Linked DNA regions of Homo sapiens: all the other regions are linked to region 3. Evidence: promoter capture Hi-C in 16 types of primary human blood cells and fetal thymus (Javierre and others, 2016). All regions are on one chromosome and are shown on one strand. The core of a region is centred on a gene start or on the middle of the fragment in contact, and the rest is flanking DNA. Distances in the headings are between cores, read along the strand shown. Region 1 overlaps ATP4A (ATPase H+/K+ transporting subunit alpha). Region 2 overlaps GAPDHS (glyceraldehyde-3-phosphate dehydrogenase, spermatogenic). Region 3 holds the start of KMT2B (lysine methyltransferase 2B). Region 4 holds the start of LRFN3 (leucine rich repeat and fibronectin type III domain containing 3).

Evidence for each region. The method cuts DNA at HindIII sites, captures the fragments that hold promoters and counts their contacts. A CHiCAGO score of 5 or more calls a contact.
Region 1: a fragment that was not itself captured here is called in contact with the fragment with the promoter of KMT2B in region 3 in 10 of 17 cell types (neutrophils, megakaryocytes, monocytes and 7 more); the score reaches 12.6 in neutrophils.
Region 2: a fragment that was not itself captured here is called in contact with the fragment with the promoter of KMT2B in region 3 in 2 of 17 cell types (neutrophils and monocytes); the score reaches 7.5 in neutrophils.
Region 4: the fragment with the promoter of LRFN3 here is called in contact with the fragment with the promoter of KMT2B in region 3 in 2 of 17 cell types (neutrophils and activated CD4 T cells); the score reaches 5.2 in neutrophils.

What each region holds. Positions count from the first base shown.
Region 1 is chr19:35,552,855-35,557,851 of GRCh38, reverse strand. It overlaps ATP4A (ATPase H+/K+ transporting subunit alpha), which reads left to right. Exons shown (of 22, transcript NM_000704.3): 11 at 5-197; 12 at 764-939; 13 at 2,040-2,176; 14 at 2,262-2,412; 15 at 2,518-2,686; 16 at 2,776-2,930; 17 at 4,023-4,146; 18 at 4,670-4,815. Among named protein-coding and RNA genes, the nearest start is that of ATP4A, 8.3 kb to the left of the region's middle. The HindIII fragment of the contact is 254 bases long and covers 1,542-1,795 here.
Region 2 is chr19:35,536,167-35,540,887 of GRCh38, reverse strand. It overlaps GAPDHS (glyceraldehyde-3-phosphate dehydrogenase, spermatogenic), which reads right to left. Exons shown (of 11, transcript NM_014364.5): 2 at 3,898-4,075; 3 at 2,485-2,581; 4 at 2,205-2,311. TMEM147-AS1 (TMEM147 antisense RNA 1) reads left to right here. Exons shown (of 4, transcript NR_038396.1): 4 at 1-150. Among named protein-coding and RNA genes, the nearest start is that of GAPDHS, 5.1 kb to the right of the region's middle. RefSeq lists an enhancer at 256-755. The HindIII fragment of the contact is 7,412 bases long and covers 1-4,721 here.
Region 3 is chr19:35,716,438-35,721,558 of GRCh38, reverse strand. It overlaps KMT2B (lysine methyltransferase 2B), which reads right to left and starts at 3,556. Exons shown (of 37, transcript NM_014727.3): 1 at 3,178-3,556; 2 at 2,018-2,090; 3 at 1-1,775. The coding sequence starts at 3,540. ZBTB32 (zinc finger and BTB domain containing 32) reads right to left here. Exons shown (of 7, transcript NM_014383.3): 7 at 4,521-5,081. The coding sequence ends at 4,807. RefSeq lists silencers at 3,122-3,171, 3,222-3,301, 3,342-3,411, 3,432-3,481, 3,562-4,041 and enhancers at 2,767-3,324, 4,612-4,891, 4,444-5,003. The HindIII fragment of the contact is 14,363 bases long and covers 1-5,121 here.
Region 4 is chr19:35,932,794-35,937,623 of GRCh38, reverse strand. It overlaps LRFN3 (leucine rich repeat and fibronectin type III domain containing 3), which reads right to left and starts at 1,250. Exons shown (of 3, transcript NM_024509.2): 1 at 69-1,250. The HindIII fragment of the contact is 21,793 bases long and covers 1-4,830 here.

The DNA of each region.
Region 1 (4,997 bases), core at 419-2,918, 160 kb after region 3:
ACAGCTGTCCATCCATACGCTGGAGGACCCGCGGGACCCGCGACACTTGCTGGTGATGAAGGGCGCCCCCGAGCGCGTGCTGGAGCGCTGCAGCTCCATCCTTATCAAGGGCCAGGAGCTGCCGCTGGACGAGCAGTGGCGCGAGGCCTTCCAGACCGCCTACCTCAGCCTGGGAGGCCTGGGCGAACGCGTGCTCGGTGAGACCCCTGGGCAGGGGAGGAGACTCCAGGTGCGAGGAGGAGCTAGCACAGACCCTGCCCACCACTCCCGGCCCAGCCCTGACCGTCCTCATCCCTGGCTGCTGGCTGATTTGTCGCAGTCCACAGCCTCACCCTTGACTTTCCCTGTACCAGTCCTGACCCCTGTCTGTCCTCACTTTCTACCTTGACCCCAGTCCTCACCTGGACTTTTATCCGTATCCTGACCTCTAACCTCTCCCAATTTTTGTCCTGACGCCTTAAACTTCGCTGCCTCTACCCTAGAAAGCAGATCTGTGGTCCAATTCTGGGCCTTTTACTTGCTGTGTGACCTCTGGCAAGAAATGTCCCCTCTCTGAGCCTCAGTTTCCTCATCTGTAAGATGAGAATGGGCCTCACAGGGTGGTTGTGAGGGTAGATTCAGATAATGTGAGTGAAGGGGTCAGCACAAGGTCAGGCATCCATAGGTGTTTGGTGCAAGGGGCCTGGTTATTTTACCCATTTCCTGGCCCTGCTAAGAAAGGGTGTGCCCAGGGCTCTTCCCTGACTTCCCCGTTTCCGGTCAGGCTTCTGCCAGCTCTACCTGAATGAGAAGGACTACCCGCCTGGCTATGCCTTCGACGTAGAGGCCATGAACTTTCCATCTAGCGGCCTCTGCTTTGCGGGACTTGTATCCATGATTGACCCACCCCGGGCCACCGTCCCTGATGCTGTGCTCAAGTGTCGCACCGCAGGCATCCGGGTATGCCACTGTGGGGAGGAACAAGTGGAGTGAGGACAGAGGATGGCAGCAGGATTTGGGTTGAAGAACCCCATGACAAACCCACCTGAAACTGGCTTGAACCAAAATGCATTGGTTTATGATACTGAAAAATTCTGGGGAATTAAGCTTCAGGTCTAGCCAGATCCAGGAGCTCAGTGTCATTAGGAATTTTCCTTTCTCCATGTCTCAGCTCTGCTGTTCTCTTTGCTGGCTTTATTTGCAGGCACTCCCTTCACTTGGGGACACACACACCCCTGCTCCAGCAGCTCAAACTTAACTCCCACCTGCTTAGCCACCCCACAAAAAGAGAGTGCCTCTTTTGCAGTAGCACTGGATTGGGTCACTCATTTATCCCTGAGCCAGTCACTGGGGCTGGGGGATGGAAGACCTTGATTGGCCAGGTCTGGGCTTACTTACCCAATCTTAGCCAGGGACCTCACTGCAACTGATGGTGTAGGGGAGAGGAGTGGTTCCCCAAACACAAAACAAGGGTGGGAAAGCCAAGGCCAGGCAGGCAATGCCCAAGCCCTTCCCGTGTCTCTACGGCCCTGTTACATCGGGCCTTGTTACCTTTCTAAGCTTGTTCGTTAGCCCTCTTTCCTTGTTCACTCCTCTGCAGTTATGGTGTCCTCCCTGCTGTTCCTCCGACAGTTCGGGCCTGTCCTCACCTCAGGGCCTTTGCACCTGCTGTTCTCCCTGCCAGGAGCACTCTTCTCCCAGCTTTCCACGTGGCTGACTCTCTCACCTCTTACAGGTCTCTGCTCAGATATCACCTTCTCAATAAGCCCTTCCCTGGGTACACTTAAAATCGAGTCACCGTTTCCTTCACCAAGCTTAATATGTTTTTTTCCACTTTCTAACACACTATATAATTCGTTTCTTTATTTTCTGTCACCCTCACTAGAGCTCCTCAAGGACAGGGATTTTTGTCTCTTTTGTCTCTGCTATATCCCAGGCACGTAGGAGGTGGTCACGCTTGGTCAAGTAAATGAACACGTGTATCAGCAGATGTCTCCCAGGGAGGACAGGGAGATTGGGCTGATCTGAAGGGGTCAGTGATCCACTGGTTCCCCCTACAGGTGATCATGGTAACGGGTGACCACCCCATCACCGCCAAGGCCATTGCAGCCAGTGTGGGCATCATCTCGGAAGGCAGCGAGACAGTGGAGGACATCGCTGCCCGCCTCCGTGTGCCCGTAGACCAGGTTAATCGCAAGTAAGCCCCCCCAGACCTCCCCGGGGTTCTCCCCACATCTGGCACAGACCGAGGTCCCAGCGAGGTCCTCCCATCTCCTCCCCAGGGATGCCCGTGCCTGTGTGATCAATGGCATGCAGCTGAAGGACATGGACCCATCGGAACTGGTCGAGGCCCTGCGCACCCACCCCGAGATGGTGTTTGCGCGCACCAGCCCCCAGCAGAAGCTGGTGATCGTGGAGAGCTGCCAGCGGCTGGTGAGCCCTGCTGATGAGGGTGGGCAGGCGGGCAGACAGGCGGGGCTGGTCTTGGACCGGCCTCTCACTGACCACCCACCCACCACCTGCACCCACTGCCTGCAGGGTGCGATTGTGGCCGTCACGGGGGATGGTGTGAATGACTCCCCAGCTCTGAAGAAGGCAGACATCGGAGTAGCCATGGGCATCGCTGGCTCAGATGCTGCCAAAAATGCAGCTGACATGATCCTGCTGGATGACAACTTTGCCTCCATTGTGACAGGCGTGGAGCAGGGTCCGAGCCACGCCAGGGGGAGGGCAGGCAGTGTGGGCACAGGAGGGAGAGGGCTGTGAGGAGGCTGAGGTGCCCACCCTACCCCACAGGTCGACTGATCTTCGACAACCTGAAGAAGTCTATTGCCTACACATTGACCAAGAACATCCCAGAGCTGACACCCTACCTCATCTACATCACCGTCAGCGTGCCCCTGCCCCTCGGGTGCATCACCATCCTCTTCATCGAACTCTGCACTGACATTGTAAGTCCACAGCCCAGGGTACCCATCCACAGGGTGCCCAGAGACACTTGCTTGCAGATGGACAGGAGGGACAGAGACCACCACAGACACTCTTGGGCACAGAGTGACAGACAAGACCTGTGTGTGCAATGACAGCCAGTGCAGGACACATGGGTGGCAGGCAGGTGAACAGACCTAAATGGACATACAGCCATGCACACACAGGCGGACACTCAGGTAGGCCCGGGCCGACCCATGCACACACATGACTCAGATACAGATACTCAGACAGAGATGGAAACAGAACAGGTATCTGGCCAAACTTGAATCACAGACACGTGCCCCTAAACAGACACGGACAAATAAACCCCCTCAGATAGACCCCATGGCAGACAGACAGAAAAGAACCACAGATACAGTCACGAATGCAGCCAGAGGCGCAGCTGTGTTGACAGGTATTTATTCGGTAACATTTACACAGTGCTTTCTCTGGGCCAGACACACCATCATTTCCTTAATTTTGTACTCATAACCACACTATGAGATGAGTTTTGTTACTATCACCCGTACTTTACTGATGAGCTCATCAAGGCATAGACAGGTAGAGTGGATTGTCCCAGGTCACTGGGCAAATAAGTGGCCCGGCTGTGACTTGAGCTTGAGCAGTCACAGGTCCCACAGCCTGTGGTCGTGGTCAGTATGCTCTGCTGCCACTCTAGGCACAAGCAGATGAAGGGGCACGGCGACACTGAGAGACTGAAGATACACAGAGATAGGGAGTGACACAGAAATACACAAGAGCAGATACAGTCACAGAGAATTACACTGGAGACAGGGACAGAGAAACAGAGTGAGGAACAGAGAAAGAGAGGGAGGGAGACAGAGGGAGAAGATAAAAGCAGATGTTCTTACGAAGATGGGCACCAGGATGCCAACACCCAGGGGCCAGTGGGGCCCAGGCTGTCCAGGCTGGTGTGGCTGTGCCGTCCCTGCAGGTCCTGCCTGCTAACCTCAGTCCTGTTCCTGCTCACAAGTGGGGGAAGGGGGACCCGAAGTGGAGGGGACAAGGGCCCAGCCAAACCCTCAGTCCCAGTTCCTTCCACTCCTGGCCAGTTCCCATCTGTGTCCCTGGCATATGAAAAGGCCGAGAGTGACATCATGCACCTGCGTCCACGCAACCCAAAGCGTGACAGATTGGTCAACGAGCCCCTGGCTGCCTACTCCTACTTCCAGATTGGTGGGTGCCCGTGGGCCGGGGAGCCTGGAGGTGGGGGGCTCTGCGCTGGGCTGCTCGCCTGCCCCAGGCCCTGCCTTGGGCTCCGGCTGGTTCTGGACCTCAGTGTCTGCATTTGGTCCTGGGTCTCCGTTGTCCTCCGTGTCCCTCTCTGTTTGTGACAGTCTCTCTGGTTCTGCTGTGTCCCTGCTCTCTCTCTGACCTTGCTCTCCATGACCCTGTCTCTGAGTTGTTGCCTATTTCTGTCTTTTTGGGTCCTGGATGTGTCTTTTTCTCTCTGTCCCTGCCTCTGTCTCTCTGTCCCTGCTTCTCTCTCTGCCTCTGTGTCTCTGTCACTGTTTCTGTGTCCCTGGCTCTGTGTGTCCTTGACCTTGTGTATCTGTGTCCCTGTCTCTCTTCCCGTGTCCCTGTCTGTGTGTCCTTGACCTTTGTGTATCTGTGTCCCTGTCTCTCCATGTCCCTCTCTTCCTGTGTCCCTGTCTCTGTGTCCATCTCTGTCTCCCTGTGTCCCCTTGTCTCTCTCCAGGTGCCATTCAGTCCTTTGCTGGCTTCACTGACTACTTCACGGCAATGGCCCAGGAGGGCTGGTTCCCACTGCTGTGCGTGGGGCTGCGGGCGCAGTGGGAGGACCACCACCTACAAGATCTGCAGGACAGCTACGGCCAGGAGTGGGTGAGCCCTGCCCCGCCCCATCCCATCCCTGGGCTCCCTCCTTCCCAGGGCAACTTGCCTTGTGTGCGGCCCACTTGTTCCTCCACGTGTGACTGAGTTCAGCCAGAGCATCCCGGACCCCCAGACTCCCTGCCAGTTCGGGGGGGCAAGGGCCTTTCCCACCATCTCCAGCTCCAAACTCC
Region 2 (4,721 bases), core at 589-3,088, 180 kb after region 3:
AAGTGCTGGGATGACAGGCATGAGCCTCTGCACCTGGCCTCGTGTTTTTTTTTTAGTTAGCCATTTTATACGTGTTTACTGAACACCTGTCCTGTGCCCATATTCTAAGTGCCTTACCTGCATTAAACTCATGTAACCTTCACAACCCGATGAGGAAGTGCTACCGCTGTCATTTTTTGCATTTTTTTACTGCTGTCAGGGCAGAGGGGAGGGGAGTGAGAGGGAGAGCCTGCTGGAGTGCAGGTGGCTGGTCCCACCTCGGGTCTGCACTCCTGTTTCCACTGCCTGAATGAATGAATGAATGGGCTGCCCTGCAAAGCCATCACACATGCATGGTTATCCTCTTCCTGTCTCCTGCTCTGTCAGTCCACTTTCCATCATCTGGCCCAACGAGCTCTTCTCAGATACCCCCCATTTCCTGCCTTCCAAATTAGGGACACTTGCGATTCCTCTGCAACAATTGCTGAGTTGGCCTGAGGCAAAGACTGTGCCCCCAGAAGACCCCAGGCCCTCCCCAAGGCTGTCATGGGCCCCAGCCTCCTGCCCACCAGGCTGTTTTGAGGATTCCATTCATTCATTCAAAGGAAGTTCTGAATGGCTATCAGGGCCTGTACCTGCTAATGCCAGAGCAACAGTGGTGGTACCAGTTGACAGAGCCCTCCGTGCAAGGCCATGGCCTTGTGGGAAGTGCCCGTTTAAGTGTCCACAAACACATGTTCACTCCATTCGTGCTCCCAGCTACCGCTGTGGTGGGTTTGCTCATCATCCCCATCAGATACAGCGGGGAACTGAGGCTCAGGCAAGTTTGGTTCCTTGCCCAAGGTCACCCAGCTAGCTAGCGGAGGTGCAGGGCAGAGTGCAGGCACACAGCCTGGCTTGTGCAGCCCAACAGTGCGGGGATGGAGAGGGGGCTGGAGGGGCGGGGAACTGCATTGCACAAGTGACCAGAGAAGGCAAGACCTGAGTCGGGACCGTGGACGGAGGGGGCAGCTAGGTGGGGAAGAGGGATGACTCCAAGTGGCGGTAATGGTGGTGGCCACGTTGAAGTCTGCGTGATAACTATGGTGCTGGAGTTGTTTCTAGTGTCATGATTTCAAACTTGGGTTAAGCAGCTTTCTTCAATTTTCACTGACTCTCCAGTCTCTGCCCCCTGCCCACAAACTTCCTGCACCCATCCCTGCCCCTTTATCACTCACCCTACCCCCAGTAAGTACAAGGAGAAGGGCTGAGATTAGATCTGTGGGGAGGGGCGCTGGGGAGGCTGCAGACCCTGCCTGGGCCCAGACAGGGTTCACTAGTGTGCCTGTGTGTATTTGCATGTGTGTGGGCCTGTGGGTGTGTATGTGTAAAAGCCCCAGGCAGCCACAGAGCCAGGAGTCGCTAATAGTTTACATTAGAAAGGTGAATGTCAGCCAAAAATAAAATTCTAAACTCCCCCAACTAACTGAATGTAGCCCTTCTCTCGGCCCAGGGCATTCTAAAGTAAAACTGAAACACTGGTTCAGGCCATGATGGGAACGGATGTTCGGATGTTCGCACAAGCCTCATTATACCTTCCTCCCTTTGGAATTCAGGCATAGTTGACCAGCAGTGGTCAATGGGAGCTGAATAGGTGTGGGTTGAAGGGGAATCAAGAGTTGAGTTCTGGACATGTTGATATGCCCACGAGAAAACATGCAAATGTGCGTTAAAGCAAAATGCAGTGGCTCCTGCCTGTAATCCCAGCACTCTGGGAGGCCAAGGTGGGAGGATTGCTTGGGGCCAGGAGTTTGAGACCAGCCTGGGCCAGATGGCAAGACCTCATCTCTACAAAAAATTTGCCAGGTGTGGTGGCTGGTGCCCACTACTTGGGAGGCCGAGGTGGGAGGACCACTTGAGCCCGGGAGGTCAAGGATGCGGTGAGCTATGATTACACCACTGCACTCCAGACTGGGCAAAAGAGTGATACCCCGTCCCTAAAAAAAATATAAAGAAAAAGCATTCTTCAGTACAGTGAGGCATCTTTTTAGATTAGTGCTTCTTAATCATTTTAGGGGTGAAGGACCTGAGACTTCCCTCTTCAAATTAGTACCTAGAGGCATGCACACGCAATTTTGGGGGTGGTTTCAGCACCCCATGTGAGAGGCTGGAATCCCATTTTAGCCACCTCCACATGCCCTGCCTCAATATGTCACAGCCGTGCATCAGACAGATGCTTTCCTTACCACTGGTAGACAGAGATCTCATGGTTGTCCACGACCAGTTGTCCATTCCTGAATTCCACACTTCCCTTGTATCGGCCGTGGGTGGAGTCATACTTAAACATGTACACCTGTGGGGGATGGAATGGCTCCTAGTCTTGGGGTGGCAGGGTGAGGATCCCTAGAGAGTCCCCTCTTTGGTGAAGGTCTCACATTACAGCTGAGAGCCTTCCATACAGCTTCCCTGAGTCCCTTTCCCACCCCAGTCCCACCCTGCTGTTCCTGCCCTCTGCCAGCTACTGACCATGTATTCCGGGTCAATGAATGGATCATTCACAGCCACCACCTTAACACCCTTCTCCATGCAGGCGCGCAGGACCAGGCGACCGATGCGTCCAAATCTGGCCAGGGACAGACAGGAAGGGATGGGAGAGAAGGGGGTAATGGAGAGGAGGCTCCCTCAAGGAGCCTGGTTGGGAATCCTTAATCCAGGGGAAGAAGGCAACAACCTCTGTGCTGGCCATGGGCATCTCTTGCCAAGATGACCTCACCAGCCCCTTTAACTGCTTTTTCAGCTCCCTCTCCCAATCCGTTCCCTAACCCATATATACATATATATATATATATATTTTGAGATGGAATCCAGCTCTTTCGCCCAGGCTGGAGTGCAGTGGCGCTATCTGGGCTCATTGCAACCTCTGCCTCCTGGGTTCAAGTGATTCTCCTGCCTCAGCCTCCCAAGTAGCTGGGACTACAGGCGCGTACCACCACACCTGGCTAATTTTTGTATTTTTAATAGAGACGGGGTTTTGCCATGTTGGCCAGGCTGGTCTCGAACTCCTGACCTCAAGTTGATAGACCCGCCTTGGCCTCCCAAAGTGCTGGGATTACAGGCGTGAGCCACTGCGCCTGGCTCCTAACCCCTATTCTTAACCTTGTAGCTGGATGGATCTTTTATTTTTTCATTAAACAATTAAAACAATTTTTTTCTGTAGAGACAGAGTCTCGCTATGTTGCCCACGCTGGTCTCAAACTCCTGGTCTCAAAGGATTCTCCTACCTTGGCCTCCCAAAGTGCTGGGTTTACAGGTGTGAGAGCCTGGATGGATCTTAAAACTTCAAGACAGATTACGTCTCTTGGCATGAAAACATCCACGACTGTCCATCAGTAAAACAAGATCCACACTCCTTACTGTGGTGTAGCAGCCCCCTCCGGGCTTCTCACTGGCCTCCCTCCTTTTCCCTTTGCTTGGTGGACACCAGCCACTCTGACTTCCTGGCTGTCCCTGAACATACTGAGCTCGCCTCTGCCCCAGAATCATTGCTTGTCCCGCTGCCTGGAAGACTCCTTCCCCAGCAAGGTGCCCTGGGAGCTGGCTGTGTCTCATCACTCTGGTCCCGCTCCAATGACACCTTCTCCCCAAGGCCTTCCCTGATCACTGGCAAAGGCTGCCCTCTCCAGCCTGACTTTTCCACTGGATTCTACACTGTTCCCAGCACACTCTACTGAACAATCTAATTTCTTTATTTGATTACTGTCTTCCCCACCAGCATGCTGCTGAGCATGGGGCCCTGTCTGCCTTGCTCCGGGCTATTTCTCCAGGGTCGTCGGAACGAAAGCATTGATGGGGGGAAATGTGGAGGTGCCCCCAGTTAGCAGCCAGAGGAGGGGCTGGGCTCTAAGGCTTCAGACTGATCAGGGGCTGGAGTAGACTCACCCATTGATGCCCACAGTCAGCTCCCGGGCCACAGACACCATCTTAGGAGGAGGAGTAGCGGGGTGAGGAGGCAGTGGTGGCGGTGGTGGCTTTATTTCCTCCCTGACTGGTGTGGGCTCTGGTTGTGGCTGGGGCTCTACTTCAGCCTTAGGCTCAGGTGGGGGCGGTGCTCTGGTCACTATGCGGGGGAAGGGAGGGAATGGGTTGCATGACCACCAAAGTGAAAGAGAACAAACTGTCTTTGCTGCCCAGAATCTGTTGCTGGCTCCTGGCCCCTCGTGACCAACCATTTAGCCCAGTGTTTCCCAAACCCACTTTCTCTACAGAATGAACTTGTTTAAAATGTCAATCCCAAGGGCTCTTTCCTGGAGATTCTAATTCACTGGTTATGTACTTCCGTTGTTTTTTTTTTCCCGAGACAGAGTATTGCTCTGTCACCCAGGCTGGAGTGCAGTGGACTGATCTTGGCTTACTGCAACCTCCGCCTCCTGGGTTCAAGTGATTCTCCTGCCTCAGCCTCCCGAGTAGCTGGGATTATAAGCACCCGCCAAGGTGCCTGGCTAATTTTTGTATTTTTAGTAGATACAGGGTTTCACTTGGCCAGGCTGGTCTCGAACTCCTGACCTTAGGTGATCCACCCGCCTCAGCCTCCCAAAGTGCTGGGATTACAGGTGTGAGCCACTGCGCCTGGCCGGGGTATGTACTTTCAACATAGATCGCTTGGGGTGACATTCTCTGTGCCTCAGTTTCCTCCTCTGTAAGGGGAGATAATAGTACTTTTCTTAGAGGGTTGTTGTGAGGATTAAATGAGGTAATACATGGAT
Region 3 (5,121 bases), core at 2,307-4,806:
TAGCTGAGCCTGTGTCTGTGGCCCGTTGCTCAGAGCTGGAGCCCCGTGAGGGGACACCTCGGCCTTAACAGGAGTGGTGACCACAGGGGCGAATCGAGGCAGGCTGAGGTGGTTGGTGCGGCCCACTGCCCGAGGCTCAGGCTCAGCTGGAGAGTCATCGGCAGGAGGAGGCTCTGGCTCAGGGGCTTCAGGAGCCCCAAGAGGAGGAGGAGTAAGCACCGATTCGTAGATCTTCAGGTGGGCTTCGCTTGGGGTAAACTGAGGGGCCCGAAGGAGTAGGGGCCTCCGGGAGGAGGTGGCAGGAGCAGGGGGTGGGGAGGGGGCCGGGGGAGGTGGAGGGGCTGGGGGAGGAGGGGGCAGCTCCCGGGTCAGTGAGGTCCAGCGAAATGTGGGTTCCCTTAGGATGGACCGTCTCTTCTCAGGGAGTGGAACTGGGGTAGATGGAGGAGTTGGGGCACGTGGTGGAGAGGGGACTGGTGCTGGCTCCTGGGGAACAGGTGGGGAGGTGGTAATGGGAGGTCGCAGGACAGGTGAGACCTCCACCTTTGGGGGTTTGGGGGGGTCTTCATCCATAAATCGCCGGGGTGTCTTGATGACACGGGAGGAGCGGGCACTCACCACAGGCATAATAAACTGCCGGATATTCTTCAGGAAGGTGGTGCTTTTGGGGGCCACGGTGGGACTGTCTTCCGGAGGGCCTCCCGTGGCGGTGCTGGGGGTTGGAGTGGGAGGAGAGGTGCCCTCTGGCCCTGCCCGAGCAGCTTCCCGCTCCGCCCGCTGGCTGGGAGTCAGGGGAGGCCGGCCCCTCTTCCTGGAGCACGTAGCTGGGACCACAGGAGGAGGGGATTCCTCCTGCTCCTCTTGGGCAGGAGGCGGTGGAGGGGATGGTAGAGGTGGTGGGGACACTGGGGGTGGTGGTGGAGGGCAGAGTGGGGGTGGAGGAGATGTCGAAGGGGGTGGGAGGGGTGGAGGAGGTGAAGGGGCTGGAGGAGTCAGAGGCGGTGGTGGCAGCTTTGCCTCTTCCTTTTCCGCAGCTGGCATCATCTCCTCAGCTACAGCTCTTTCTTCCTTCTCTTCTCCCTCCTTGTCTTTTTCTTCTTCTTCTTTCTTCTCTTCTTCCTCGTCATCCAGCTTCTGTTCCTGCTTTTTCCAGCAAGGGCTCCCTCCCTGTCCAGATCCAACTCTTCTTTGGGGGACATCCTGCCAACTTTCCTCATGTTGACCTTGACCTTGACCTGATTCGAGTCCCAAGGACAATTGTCCCATCTTTACTTTTTTGGCCCTTGAAACAAACTTGATCACAAAGGGGAGCCCACCACCTCGGCCGCGGCCCCTGCCTCCACGGCCTCCACGGCTTGACTGTCCTCCACGCCTGGGGGTCCCAGGTCCTGGACCGGGCCCCTCCTTGCATTTCCAGCTGCCAGTCTGATGTTTCACTGGAACCACAGGAGGTGGGGGCTCAGGTTTGGGGATTGTCACAGCTGCTTCTGCCACCACTACTGCTTGCTGCTTCCTCCTGCAGGGGCCTGCTGGCCGTCCTGGGGGCCGTCCCCGAGACCGCCGGGGGGTGGAGGGCTCACATGCCCGGCTCCGGGGTGCTTGGGGTGCCTGGGCCCGCCGGAGAAGTTCAGTCAGTGCCTGCACCATCCGTTCTGTGCCTTCCTCACCCCGTTTCCGGGCAGGGGTCTTTGGGGGGGTAGGAGCCACATCTGCTAGGCGAGGAGGAGGAAGGGGGGTCGTCTTATGCTTGCGACCCCGACCTCGGGGCGCTCGACCTAAAAGGAGAATAGTTGTGGGGAGATGGATCAAGCCAGCCCTACACACAGAGGAAGGCGCTCCAGGAGGGCAGGGACTAAGTCTTGCTTGTGTGTTTCCCCCGCTGCCCAGACTAGCTTGGACTCTGAACACAGAACACATTCGGCAACTGACAGAGGCTAGTTGAACAGGGAAGAGCTGACACGAAGGGCGAGGATAAATTCCTGTGACGCTAAAGAGGTGGAGTTCCCCCGTCACTCACCTCGCTGGGATCGGAGCGCAGAGCGCAGGGAACTGGGGGCCACATCTTCATCTGAATGAAAACCCTGAAACTCCTGATTTAGGGGACCGGGGTGGAGGGGAGAAACAGCAGTCAGTGCCAAAGCCCTCGTTCCATCTGAGGTATCGAGGAATATCCCCAGTTCCCACTTAGCATACCCCTGCCTATTTAAAAAGAACGAAAAAGACTCAAAGGTCGCGGGTAGTGGAAGAGAGGGTCTCTCCCTAGGGATGGAGGCGCCAGGTATTTCGAACTCCGATCCCCAGTGCCGGACCACACCAGCACAGCCAAAGCCATGGTTCACTGGCCCAAGAGAGAAGACGACAGGGTCTCCTCAGGAAAGGCAGCAGGCCCCATACTCAGATTCCTTCAGAGTCCAATTCAGACCAAAGTGGGACCTCCACTGACACCCTTTCGGGCCACAATTTATTTCTGCATTAAGTTGGGAACAGGGGCCCGCAAGTGAAGGGGCGGGGAGGGCATCAGATGGCTTTCGTACAGGCTCCACTGCGAGCTCTCAGGTTGTTATTAACCGTCCAGGGCAACGCAACCCACACCTTCCTGCCTGTTCTGAAAGGCTGGGGGAGAAATCCTGAGCTGAGCTCTGACCTGCTAGAGTGCCCAGTCCCGGCCTTCATCCCACTCCTGTTCAACCCGAGCCCCAAGAGGAAGCCCTCCACCACTCTACCTGAGATGCCAAGAGAAACTGGGGCCCTGGAGAAACCAGGAGGTTGCGAGGCCCGGCGGGGCGGCCCACAGGTAAGAGCCCAGACAGCTCCAACCTGTCTGCCAAGGCCACGCTGCCGCTGTCAACCACGACTGGCTGGACATGCAGTCCCCACTGCCTCCTCGCCCAAACCTCCACCGCCCTAGCTTTGCCAGCTGCCGAAAAGGATCGGCCCAAGACACTTCAGCGGGACCGACATCGGGCGCGAGTGCCTGGCTGCAGCCGGGGCTTCTCTACCCACTTCCAGAGGCCCTTTCCCCCGGAAGCTGCATGCAGCCGCCCTCCCTCCGTGCCCCGTCTCTCCGAAGGAACCCTGAGGACCCGGCCTGCCCACGCCGCCCCCGGGACAACCCAGACCCCTGGAAGCCCCGGCCTCCGCCCCACCCGGCGCCGGGGACGCCTCCAACCGCCTCACCTCCTCGTCGGATTCCCCGTCACTGCTCTCCTCCTCCGGCACGCAGCCTCGACTCGGGCCCCAGCCCCGGCCCCGACCCCGTCCCCGGCCCCGCTGGACCCGCGGGCCGGCCCACAGGCGGCGGAGCCGGCGCAGGCCCCGGCGGAGCCCCAGCAAACGGAGCAGGGCCGTGTCCTCCCCGGGCTCGGCTCCGCCCGGCCCCGTCGCGCCACCGCCGCGCCGCAGAGCTACCCGCACTCTTTCGGCCCCGTTGCCCCGTCCGCCGCGGCCCCCGCCCCCGCCGGCGCCCCGCGGCCGGCCCGGGAAGCGGCCCCGCGCGGAGCCAGGCCCGGGGCAACTGCCGCCGCCCGCCGCCGCCGCCATCTTGGCACCGTGAGAGGGGCCGGGGAGGCGGGGGGAGGGGCGGCCCGTGCGCAGGGCCGGGGGGAGGGGAGAGAGCGGGGGCGGGGCGGGGCGGCCGCGGCGCACGACAACAACCAGCGCCGCCGCGGGAGACCGGGGGCCGGGCCGGCCACGCGCAGGGCACCACGGGAGAGGGAGTCCGCGGCCGGCCGGCGCCCTCGGACCGCACCTGGGGAGCACAGACCCCCGCGTCGCGGCCGCAGAGGGGCGAACCGCGGGGGCCTCCGGGAAATGTAGTCCGGACGCCTCGCTTCTTCCGCCGGCAGCCAGGGCGCGAGGGCCGGGACGGCGGGGTTCCCGGCCAGGACCCGGAAAGCGGGTTGCCGGGTCTCCGGGAGGTGTGGTCCTAGCCCCAGGCTCCTCCCATTGTTCTTGGCTAGGCCGGCGGCCCGCGTGGACTACCACTCCCAGGGTGCCGCGGGCTCGGGCCCCGGGACCCCCGAGGCCCTGGGAAATGCAGTTCGCGGCTGCAGGAGGCGTGGGCTGGAGAAGGAGCGGTGGAAAGCATAGTCAGTCTCCGTTCCAGGCGCGACCTGGCGGCGGCTTGGCACGGTGTGGAGGGAAGACGCCGGAGAGGCCGCGGTCTCGGGGTCCGTGTGCTCCCGGAGAGGAGGCGGGTGGCCGAAAGCAGGGTCGGAGCACGCGTTCCTCTCTCTCCCGGGCCGAGCGTTCCCAGATCAGACTCCGCGCGCCGTGGATTGCAGTGGAAGGGGCGAGTGACTTGCGGTCGCACAGCCCCCACCAGTCCAGGACCGGCATGCCGCAAGGTGTGCCCGGACACCGAGTCCTCGGGGCCGGCTGCCTCCTGGGGAGGACGGGGCGCCTCGGGGGTGGAAGAAGTGTCCATCCCGCTGGACAGCGGACGCAGGGCCACCAGGGGCCGCTACAGGACAAGGGGCGTGGGCGGGGGTGTGCACAGACTAAACTCGGCTTTCTAGTCCTGAAGGGAGGGCACAGGAAACTCTTTATTATGGTGATGAGATCGACAATCTCCCCTACTGTTAACCTTCGCTCCTGCACACTTCAGTGTCCTCACTCTGTAGGGCTCGCTGGCCTGGGCTTCTGCGACCCGCGATCGTCCAGGAGAGGGCACTCGGCGCCCTTCCTGGGGCGCTTCTGGGGCGGAATTTGCTAGGCCGCCGTAGCAGCGGTGCCAGGTCAGAAGCCGAGCCGGCCCGCTTTTCGTTCTTTAATTGGACTCTTGGCTAAGACGCTACCGACACCCCGTCAGGTGGTGGAGGAAGAAGGACAACAGGGAGAGGTCGAGGGCCGAGACGGCCTCGAGGAGGAGTAGAGGAAGGTGGAGCGGATGGTCCATCCGGGCGGGAGTTGGCTGGGCGAGTGACCGCGCATGTGCGCCTGCATGGAGGCCAGGCTGGGACAGCCGGCCCCGCACAGGGAGCAGCGGTACGGAGCGGCCCCGTGTGTCCGCAGGTGCTTGGTCATGGCCGAGAAGTCCCGGGAGCGCTGAGGACAAAGGCTACAGGAGAAGGGCTTCTCTCCTAGAGCGGTCGGAAGGGGAGGCCGGTGAAGGAAGGAAGA
Region 4 (4,830 bases), core at 1-2,500, 220 kb before region 3:
GGTACCGTAACCCGCAGCCACAATGCTCCTCCCAGCCCGTCCCCACCTTGAGGTTTCAGCAGCCTTACCTGAGCTAGAAGCAGCCCCAGGGAGCAGAGTCCTAGCTCCAGGGGAGTCAGAGGTCAGGGCTCTGGAGGGAGCATCTGGTCATGCTTTTCCTGTCCCCAAGGCTTCTGTAGAGGGACTGTGTCCTGACTCGGCTCAAATCTGTGGCAACGGAGTCTCCAGACCTTAATACTCGGGGTTCCAGACCCCTAAATATTGGGCCTCTAGGGTCCAGTTTTACGGGTCCAGTTTGGGTTGTTCAGGGTCAGGGTCTCCCAGGTCCAGTCTTGGGATGCTAAGCAGCCAAACGGTGGGGTTTAGAGTCTGAGATCCGATCCCGGGGTTCTGCATTCAGATATTGGGGTGCTGAGTCAAGATTGGGAGGTCTCAAGCCCCAGATTTAAGCACTCAGGTCTGCAGCAAGGACTTCAGGCCCAAACTCGGGTTCAGGCCCCTTGGAATCCCACAGTCCAGATCTTGGAATTTGAGGCCTGAATCCCAGGGTTCAGGTCCCCAAGAGTGGGTTCCAGGGTACAGTACTGGAAATCCAGTCCCAGATTTCAAGGTCCCAGGCCCAGAATTCAGAGTTCAGCTCCAGGCTTGAGGTTTTAGATGTCAAATCTTGGGGTTCTGCTCCAAATATTGGGGTCTGTGTTCCAAATTGTGGGGTTCCGGCTCCAAATATTGAGGTCCCAGTGACCGATGTTGAGATTCCAGCCCCATATACTGGGGTTCAGGCTCCAGATCTTGGGGTTCCACGGCCGGATCTCGGGGTGCTGGTCCCAGATCAGGGTTCCAGGCTCGGGTTTCCGGAATTCCCGATTCAATCTGGGGGTGCAGGCCCCCGAGGTGGAGGTTAGGGCGCGGGGTCCGGGGCGGCGGCGTCCCGGCTGGCTTCCTGGGCTGCGGCGGAGGCTGACTGGGAGGGAGGGGACCGGCTGCGGTGGGGAGGGGGGCGACCGGGCAGCCCCAGGGCCGGGTGGGGCGAGGCCTGGGAGCGGAGGGACGGTCAGACAGACTGGGACACGCGGGATGGGGGCACCGCAGCGCAGGCGGGGGCGCAGGGGGGAGGGGCCGCGCTCAGAGACCCCTCCCCCGCCGGGGCCGAGGCGGGGGCCGGGCGGGGGCCGGGCTGGGCGGGCCGGGTCCAGGCGCTCCCGCGGCCTCCTCGCCGGCAACCCAGGGCAGCGCGCGCACCGGCGCTTAAAGGCGCAGGCTCCGCGCGCACCCGCGCTTAAAGGCGTAGGCACCCGCCCCTTCTCTCAAAGACGCGCCCCGGCCCCACCTCCCATGGAGTCGCACTGGCGCTGCTGGGAAAGAGAATCCCTGGATACAGAGAGACTGAGACAGAGAGACAGAGAAGAACGGAGATACAGAAAGGCAGACAAAAAGATGGGCAGGCTTAGATTGATGGATAGAGAGGAGAAAATGGAAAGAGGCAGAGAGACAGATTGAAACACACACATATTCGAGACATGGAAATGCACAGAGACAGCGAGACACAGAGAGTGATGGAGAGACAAGAGATAAGGACAAGTCAGAGAAAGACAGAAACAGAGATAGAGACGTGCGTGCGCGCGCACACACAGACACACACATACACACTCACACGCTCTAAGACGCAGCACCTGGGCTGTGAGAATGGTATGTGTGTATGTGCATTCAGTAACTATTCCTAGCCTTGAGTGTAGCGCTTCATTCCAGAGCCACTGGCCCCCCAAACCTGTCTCTTTCTGCCCCCCTTATCTCAGCACCACCTCCCTGGAATGTCCTTTCCACGGTTGGAGTTTCCTTACCTGGCCATGCCCAGCAATAGGCTTGATCTTTCAGGCCAGAGGGGCTCCTTCCCAAGGCTCCTTTCTCTGCCTGCAAGAGGGAAAACTTGTGCCATCTGGGATTAGGGAAAGACCTCAAGACACACTGACAGCCGGGGGCGGTGGCTCACGCCTGTAATCCCGGCTCGTTGGGAGGCCAAGGCGGGCGGATCTTTTGAGATCAGGCGTTGGAGACCAGCCTGGCCAACATGGAGAAACCCCGTCTCTACTAAAAATACAAAAATTAGCCGGGTGTGGTGGCGGACGCCCGTAATCCCAGCTACTCGGGAGGCTGAGGCAAGAGAATTGCTTGAACCCGGGAGGTGGAGATTGTAGTGATCTGAGATCCAGCCATTGCACTCCAGCCTGGGTGACAGAGTGAGACTCTGTCTTTAAAAGAAAGAAAGAAAGAAAGAAAAGCAGAGAGGGATGCCTTGCCTTGCAGGAGCCAGGCCAGGTGTCCTTGCAGTGCAGCCCACCAGGATCACCCGGGGGCACCATAGATCTCCAGGTCCCAACCTCAGAGTTTCTGGTTCAGTGGGTCTGAGGTGGGACCCAAACATTTGCATTTTTAACGAGTACCCAGGTGATGCTAATGTGACTTTTCAAAGACCATACTTTTTTTTTTGAGACAGGGTCTTGCTTTGTCACCCAGTACATTGGTGCAATCATAATTGACTGCAACCTCAAATTCCTGGGCTCAAGCAATCCTCCCACCTCAGGCTCCAGAGTAACTGAGACTACAGGCATGCATCGCCATATCCAGCTAATTTTTAAAATTTCTTGTAGAGACAGGGTCTCAATATGCTGCCCAGGCTGGTCTTGAACTCTTGGCCTCAGGCAATCCTCCCTCCCAGGCCTCCCAAAGTGTTGTGATTACAGGTGTGAGCCACTACACCTGGTCAGGGACCACATTTTGAGAACAGCTGGGCTGAACCAGGGCTATCTGCACTGCACACGGAACTGTCTACCACAACAGCTATGCTAAAACCTGGTGGGTTGAGGGCATGTAGCACCGCAGATGTGTACCAAAGAGACAAATGTATTTAGAGACATAAAGAGGAATTCAGTCTATAAGGGACTTAAACAATGCAACAAGCAAAAAACAAATAACCCCATTTTATTATTATTTTATTTATTTATTTATTTTTGAGACAGAGTCTAGCTCTGTTGCCCAGGCTGGAGTGCAGTGGTGTGATCTTGGCTCACCGCAAGCTCCACCTCCCGGGTTCACGCCATTCTCCTGCCTCAGCCTCCCGAGTAGCTGGGACTAGAGGCGTCTGCCACCATGCCCAGCTAATTTTTTTGGTATTTTTATTAGAGACAGGGTTTCACCATGTTAGCCAGGATGGTCTTGATCTCCTGACCTCGTGATCTGCCCGCCTCGGCCTCCTAAAGTGCTGGGATTACAGGCGTGAGCCACAGTGTCCGGCCTATTTATTTATTTATTTTTTTAGACAGAGTCTTACTTTGTTGCCCAGGTTGTAGTGCAGTGGCATAATCTTGGCTCACTGCAACCTCTGCCTCCTTGGTTCAAGTGATTCTCCTGCCTCAGCCTCCCAAGTAGCTGGGATAACAGGCACCTACCACCATGCCTAGCTAATTTTTGTATTTTTAGTAGAGATGGGGTTTCGCCATGTTGGCAAGGCTGGTCTTGAACTCCTGACCTCAGGTGATACCCCCCACCTCGGCCTCCCAAAGTGCTGGGATTACAGGTGTGAGCCACTGCGCCCAGCCCCCATCTCTTTTTTTTTAAGACAGAGTCCTGCTCTGTCGCCCAGGCTGGAGTGCAGTGGCATGATCTCGGCTCACTGCAATCTCCACCTCCTGGGTTCAAGCTATTCTCCTGCCTCAGCCTCCCGAGTAGCTGGGATTACAGGCATGCACCACCACGCTTGGCTGATTTTTATTTTGAGACGGAGTCTCACTCTGTCACCCAGGCTGGAGTGCAGTGGCGTGATCTTTGCTCACTACAACCTCCGCCGCCCGGATTCAAGCGATTCTTCTGCCTCAGCCTCCCGAGTAGCTGGGATTACAGGCATGTGCCACCATGCCCGGCTAATTTTTGTATTTTTAGTAGAGATGGGGTTTCACCATGTTGGCAAGGCTGGTCTTGAACTCCTGACCTCAGGTGATACCCCCACCTCGGCCTCCCAAAGTGCTGGGATTACAGGTGTGAGCCACTGCGCCCAGCCCCCATCTCTTTTTTTTTTAAAGACAGAGTCCTGCTCTGTCGCCCAGGCTGGAGTGCAGTGGCATGATCTCGGCTCACTGCAACCTCCACCTCTTGGGTTCAAGCTATTCTCCTGCCTCAGCCTCCTGAGTAGCTGGGATTACAGGCATGCACCACCACGCTTGGCTGATTTTTATTTTGAGACGGAGTCTCGCTCTGTCACCCAGGCTGGAGTGCAGTGGCATGATCTTGGCTCACTACAACCTCCGCCACCCGGATTCAAGCGATTCTTCTGCCTCAGCCTCCCGAGTAGCTGGGATTACAGGCACGTGCCACCATGCCCTGCTAATTTTTGTATTTTTAGTAGAGATGGGGTTTCACCATGTAGGCCAGGCTGGTCTCAAACTCCTGACCTCAGATGATCCACCCACCCCAGCCTCCCAAAGTGCTGGGATTACAGGCGTGAGCCACTGTGCCTGGCCATTTTTAAAAAAATTTTTAGTACAGATGGGTTTTCACCATGTTGGCCAGACTGGTCTCGAACTCCTGACCTCAGTTGATCCGCCCACCTCAACCTGGGATTACAGTGCTGGGATTACAGGCATGAACCACTGTGCCCGCCCTTTTTTTTTTTTCTTTAAGAGAAATGGTCTTGCTTTGTCGCTGAGGCTGCCATGCAGTGGCATGATCATAGCTCCCTGCAGCCTCAAACTCCTGGGCTGAAGGGATCCTCCCACCTCAGCCTCTCAAGTAGCTGGGACTACAGGAGCATGCCACCATGCCAGGCTAATTGTTTTA